Linked DNA regions of Homo sapiens: region 2 is linked to region 1. The links are contacts of gene promoters, found by promoter capture Hi-C in blood cells and fetal thymus (Javierre and others, 2016). All regions are on one chromosome and are shown on one strand. Each heading gives the region's core, a stretch centred on a gene start or on the middle of the fragment in contact. The rest is flanking DNA. Distances are from core to core; before and after follow the strand shown.

Region 1 (3,174 bases), core at 151-2,650:
CTGGACATGGGGCTCTTGAGTCTTGAGTTCAGACTGCGGGACCCCAGGGAGACGACACCCACATTCCAGAAGCCTGTGCCCATGTGGTCCCCCGGCCCCATCATCATCCCTGCCTTACCTGTGCCCATGTGGTCCCCTGGCCCCATCATCATCCCTGCCTTAGGGATGAGCAGAGAGATCCTCAGAGTGGTGTAAAACGCACCCAGAGCGACACAGCAAGCCAGGAAGAGCCCATGGTCTCGCCCCCCGAGCCACATGCCCATCCAGGAGGCCAGGCTGGAGACTTTGCAAAGAGCCAAGGGAACAGGATCCAGAGGCCCTGGCCCCTCGGACATTCCCCCAAGGCTTCAGGGAGGAGCTGGTCACTCAGTTTCCCTACCCACCCTCTCACCTCTAGCAACACACTTGCACATACATGCACATGGACACACCTATTCACATATGCGCACACATGTGTCCGCAGGCACTGCCACGTACACACTCTGCCCTCCTCACAGCAAATCCCCACAAGCCCCTCCCCTGTCCCCCAGTTTGATGGGTCCCTGAGGATTCCCCAGCCTGGGAGTCCAGCCCTGGAAGCAGGACCCAGGCAGAAGGAACAGGACATGCCCAGCCCCTTCCTGCCGTCCACGTCATGGTCAGGCTTGGGAGTAGCTGCGTGAGTGCCGGGGAGGCCGGGGCATGGCTTGCTGTTGCCGGGAGAGGCTCCGGGGCCACAAAAGAGTGAGGGGGCTGGGGAGAACTGGGAGGTTCTGGATCAGCTGTGTGAGGCTGAGGATGGCGGCCCCCAGCCGGGAAGCCCCCGGACGTGCCAGGCTGGGGCAGTCACTCTGCGCCTCCTTGGCAGGAAGTGGAAAGAGCTCCTGGTGGGTCCAAGGGGTGGAGGTGGCGGTACCAGAGCCACTTCTGCCCCCGATCCTAGGGTCACACGAGGAGCCCTGATGTGCCACTTGGGGCAGATGGCTCCCCAGAGCTGTGGCTTGTCCCATCAGGAGAACTGTGGGCAAGGCCTCCCCACCCTGGCCTGAACAGTACTGCATTTCCAAGCCGCCTCCTGGGAGGCCGTAGAGGGGCTCTCTGCACCCCAGGGTGGGCCCCCGGAGCCACTGCACCCACGGTGGCAAGGAGACTCCCCCCGACTCAGGCCGAGAGGAGGGCGAGCCAAGCCCAAGCCTACCTTGGCTAAGCCTGGGCCCCGGAGGGTCGGTGGGGCCAGGTGGAAGTGGCCCTCGGCTGGCTCCTGGCTCCCGCAGGCGGGCGGTGGCAGCAGCGTCCCTGTCACCTAGGTGATGACATTGGAGTTGCGAAACTAGGCGGCAGCGTGGCCGGCCTGGAGCTGCAGGGCAGCTGGGGGCGGAGCATGGCCTGGAGCCCTGGGGCTGGAGACGGGCCTGGAGCCAGCACCTGCCGCCTGCCACCTGGCATGCACGCGCCACCCTGCATCCCTGCTCCCCCCAACCCTCCTCAAGGCGACTGACAGGGCCGAGCTCAGGGCAGCCAGGACAGGGCTGTCTCCACCCAGCTTTGTACTCGTTTCTACTCCTCATTGTGGACACTTCCAAGCACACTCAGCACTACAGGGAACGGCCCAGGAACCCATCCACCCGTCCCCAGCTCTCATCACTCTGACCTCTGGCTTTTTGTTTCCTGGGGCATTTCACAGCAAATTCCACCTATGAGACCGTCTCATCCGTAATACACCAGTACATGCTTCCAGCAGGTAAGAACCTCTCTTTTAAAATATTAGGTCAAACCATGAAATTGCTGATAATTAACCGTTTTGGTCCTACCAACAATACACACACACACACACACACACACACACACACGTGCAGCAAGTTCAGATAATTCAACATTATATGCAGCCATAATATCAAATTCTGAATCTTTAATGCTGGTCAGAGGATTTTGAGGAGCCCCGCCCCAATTTTGGAGAGGGAAGTGTGTGTCGCTGCCACTGTGCCACCTTCCTCCCCCACAATTGCAGCAGCACGGAGTGGACAGCACGGATGTGTGTCTAGGTGCTGCACGGATGTGTGTGACAGCTACTCATGGCTGTTGGCTCCAGGAGGGGAGATGGCCCCTCATCGCAGCCGGGTGACTCTTTGGAAAGTGTATCCATGGGTCATTCTCAAGCACACCAATTTGGGTTCCTTGGCTGCAGTGACCTCCTGGCAGGCACTCCTCCTCCCCCACCCCTAGTTCATAGGAAAGTGAGGGGAGAGGAAAGACCTGAACCCAGGGAGGCTGGTGCCTGGCTCCTCTCAACATCCTTGTTGGAGACAAAAGGTGGGTGGGTGACAGGAGGAGCAATAGCAGCTGGACCCTGGCCATAGCCATGGCCAAGTCTGTTCCCTGGTCTGAAGAGCAACTAGCACAGAGTGACAGTGGCCATGAGCCCTGGGGGGACACTGAAGGGGGAGTTCAAGGAGAATTTTTGCACACCTGTGCACCGTAACACAAGGGTTGCAAAGCTATTCCTGAACTCCCCTGCCCTATTTTAAGCTGGGTGGTCCAGATGTGAACTACAGGGCAAGCCCTTGTTTATTTCCTTTTTTTCTTTTTTACTTTTTTTCTTTCTTTTTTTTTTTTTTTGAGACAGAATCTCTCTCTGTCGCCCAGGCTGGAGTGCAGTGGCTCCATCTTGGCTCACTGCAACCTTTGCCTCCCAGGTTCAAGCGATTCTCATGCCTCAGCCTCCTGAATAGCTGGGACTACAGGCACGTGCCACCACGCCTGGCTAATTTTTTGTATTTTTAGTAGAAACGGGGTTTCACCATGTGGGCCAGGATAGTTTCAATCTTCTGACCTCATGATCCACCCGCCTCGGCCTCCCAAAGTGCTGGGATTGCAAGCGTGAGCCACCGCGCCCAGCTGCCCTCGTTTATGCCTATCAGGCAAGAGCTGGAGAGGGGACCATGCGGATGTGCGCACTGTCTGTTTTCTGTGGCTGCCGTAACCAATGACCACACAATGAGCAGCACAGAATGAGATAAATTTACTCTCTTACAGTTCTGTAGGTCAGAGTCCGAGATGGGTACCAGGGAGCTAAAGCCAAACTGCGGGCAGGGCTGGCTGCTTCTGGAGACCCCGGGAGAATACATTTCCCCCTCTTCCTGTCTTTGGGGGGCCCTGGGAGAATCCCTACTCCCCTGTCTTCTCTTGGTTCTGGAG
Region 2 (3,048 bases), core at 193-2,692, 140 kb after region 1:
CGAGAAGGGGCTCAGAGAGGATGGGGGGCTCTGGGGACTCTGATCCAAGCCGGAATCACAGCCCTGGCTCTCCTGCAGAGGTTAAGTGCTTGACGAGGCTCTAATCTGTGGTTCCTTCTGCTGCCGACCCTGGGAGGACTGCCTCCCCCGGGCTATGCCCTCGAGGAGCGTGGGGACCCAGGGCTCTGGGGTTGGAAGCACCTCCGTGGCCTTTGCAGCCTGACACCTGGGCACTGCTGGCCACCCTGCAGGCAAGTTCTCCCTGCTCTCTGTCCGTCACCACCTGCTGCAGGGATGCCAGCTTTCCCTCGCCCAGGCTCCCTCCAAGTATGGGGCCCTGGGCCAGGGGAGGACAGGACAGTGCAGGCACTGGACGTGGGGACTGGGGGTGTCTCAGCCCATGTTTCCACATCGGTGCTGCAGCTTCAAACCAGTTCCCCATCTTCCCCACCCTTGTCAGAGTTCAGCCCCACCAGCCGCCTCTGCAGGCCCCCCTCCCCCGCCCCGCGGCCCCCCTCCCCCGCCCCGCGGCCCGGCCAGGACGGCTCCCTTTGCTGCTTTGGCTTCTTTTCCGTGTTGGCTCCAAGAACACACATGTTTGTGCATGTGTGTGCCTGTGCGTATGTCCGTGCGTGTCTGTGTACCTCCTGTGTGCATGTTTGCACACGTGAGTCTGTGTGCCTGTGTCTGTGGGTCACATGTGGATGTCTGCGTTTGTGCCTAGGTCCCTATCTGCGTCCGGGTCCGGGAGCGCGCACGCTGGAATGCGCGGGGCGGGCGGGCCGGCGCGGCCCCCTGGGGGAGGTGGGGCGGGGCTCGGGGCGGGGCCGGGGGCGGCTCCCTCGGTTGTCTGCGGACTTGGCCTTTACCTGCGGGGCGGAGGGAAAGCTGAGAACTTAAAGGCGAGGGGCGGGGCGCGCCCGGCCCAGAGCGGCTCCCGGGCGGCGCCGAGCGGAGCGGATCCCGGGGCTGGGATTGCGCGCCCGCCCGGAACCCAGAACCAGCCCGAGCCGCCTGCCCCGTCGCCCGGCCGCCGGCTTAGGGCGCAGCGCGGTTGGTCCTCGCCCCCTCCCGCCCGCCGGCCTACCAGGCCATGGGGGCGTCCCGGGACCGCGGGCTGGCCGCGCTCTGGTGCCTTGGGCTCCTGGGGGGCCTGGCGCGCGTCGCGGGCACGCACTACCGCTACCTCTGGAGGGGCTGCTACCCATGTCACCTGGGCCAGGCCGGCTACCCCGTGAGCGCCGGTGACCAGAGGCCAGGTGGGCGCCGGGCGAGCCTGGGCAGGGCGGGCGGGGCCAGGGCGCTCCCCGGCGCGCTCCCTTTGTTTCCTGTTTTTAAAGTTTGCGCCAGGGCGCTGCCTGCTAGGCTGGAGGGAGCAGGGCGGGGCAGTGCCCGGCAGGCGCGCCTGCTTCTGGGACAGGGTCCGTGGGCGCTGAGGAGTCGGTCACCCCCGTCCCCTCTCAGGGCTGTCGGCAGAGGCTACTAACAGCCAGGTCCCTTGACCGGAGGAAAGAAAAACATCCCCTGACTTTGTCTGTGGGAGCAGGGTTCCCCGCTCCCCATGGCACTGGCGACTCTGCGGGTCAAGTGAAAAGGCAGGCTGGAGACAAAGGCCCTTTGAGACCCCCGGAGCTGAGTCTCCGGGGTCTCCAGAGCTCAGCCCCTTTGGGGTCCTGTCTGTGGATGTGGCAGGTGCCGTTCTTCCTGGAGCCCCACAGGCATGGGCAGCTGAGAACCCTGGTGGCCTGGGAAGCAGGTTACAGCCCTGCTCTCGTTCCGTCCTGCCTCTCTCTGCAGCTGGGATCTGGCGCCTGCACTAGGCCCGCCTCCCTCCAGGTGGTTGCTTTGAACTCCCTGGGATCCACAGAGCTTGGAGCTGGGCACCCTCGGGAATTGGAGGAGGGGGTGGAATTGGAGGAGGGAGTGTGGGGTTTGCGGCTCCCAGTGAGTCGTCAGCCGCATCACCCGGGGGTAGGCAGTGGCTGGCGGGGGGCCCTGAAATGGCTCCTTAGAGACGTCACCCCTCCTTAGCTGTTTCGAGTGCCAGGCCGAGCTTCTGCCTCTCTCCTGCGTGAAGGACTAAGCACCACGCCCTCAGTGTGGCAAAGGCTTCCTTCATTCCCTGGCTTGGTCACTTGGCCTAGGGCAGCCCAGGCTCCATCTTCGCTGGGTAGGCAGCCTTCCGGCTGGGCGGCTCAGCCAAGGCCAGGTCCACCCACAGTGCCACTAAATGCCTTGCGACTGCGAAGCATCCAAGGCCTCTGGCTGGGTGTCGCTGGGCGCTCGGGAGCTGGGAGCCCCTGTCCTGGTCTAAAGCGTGCTCCAGCTTTTGGGGGAGAGAGGAGAAGGGCCCATAGGTAATGGTGTGTGCTCCCTGGGGGTGAGGACCCCGTGGCAAGTGTGGGGACAAAGCAGGGCTTGGAACTTGATAACTGCCCTGAGCGGAGCTTTCTGGCAGGGGCCCAGAGCCCTCCAAGTTTCCTATAAGTCCAGGTGGGCTTCGGAAGGGGCGCGTCTTGGGTGGTTTCTGCAGAGGCAGCTGGTTCGAGGCAGCCCAGCCATGCCTGTCCACCTGCCTGTGTAGTCCTGGGCTGGGAGCTGTGGGACGTGGGTGGTGGTCGCTGGGGGCCCCATGGGCTCCCTGAGGCTCCTCCACCTCCCAGCCTGGTAGACACTGCAGGTCTCGCCAGGCTCCTGGTGAACCAGCCCGTGTTGGCACAGCCGTGTCGCTGTGTGCCAGTGTGCTGACAGTTCTCTTGTGAGGCTGCCAAAGTCCATAGTCTCGTATCTAGCCGAGGGCAGCAGCAGGATCCTGGCCCAGCTGTTCCTTAAAATAGCCGCTCTCTGAGCCCACTCGTCTCTCACCAGATGGCTCCCCCCAGGTTCATGTCGCAGCTGTCTGGGGCCTCTCTGGCCTGCCCCCTGCCCCGTGTGGGGCTTGGCCTGGGGCTGGACAGGGACAGTGGATTTGCCTCCAGGGTGGGCCGTTGTCCCTGGAATGAGCAGGTTTTGTCGCCTGACTCATAGGGGCCTCCAAGCTCCTTTCGG

The links. Contacts are between HindIII fragments. The CHiCAGO score rates a contact against its expected background, and 5 or more counts as called.
Region 2: a contact is called between a fragment that was not itself captured here and the fragment with the promoter of TP73-AS3 in region 1, in 1 of 17 cell types (neutrophils). The highest score is 6.9, in neutrophils.

The regions. Positions count from the first base shown.
Region 1 is chr1:3,667,171-3,670,344 of GRCh38, reverse strand. It overlaps TP73-AS3 (TP73 antisense RNA 3), which reads left to right and starts at 1,400. Exons shown (of 3, transcript NR_187362.1): 1 at 1,400-1,720. All of the region lies in intron 1 of TP73 (tumor protein p73), which reads right to left. The HindIII fragment of the contact is 8,914 bases long and covers 1-3,174 here.
Region 2 is chr1:3,529,291-3,532,338 of GRCh38, reverse strand. The region is part of intron 4 of MEGF6 (multiple EGF like domains 6); the gene reads left to right. Among named protein-coding and RNA genes, the nearest start is that of MIR551A, 30 kb to the left of the region's middle. RefSeq lists enhancers at 1,001-1,686, 2,375-3,048. The HindIII fragment of the contact is 3,584 bases long and covers 1-3,048 here.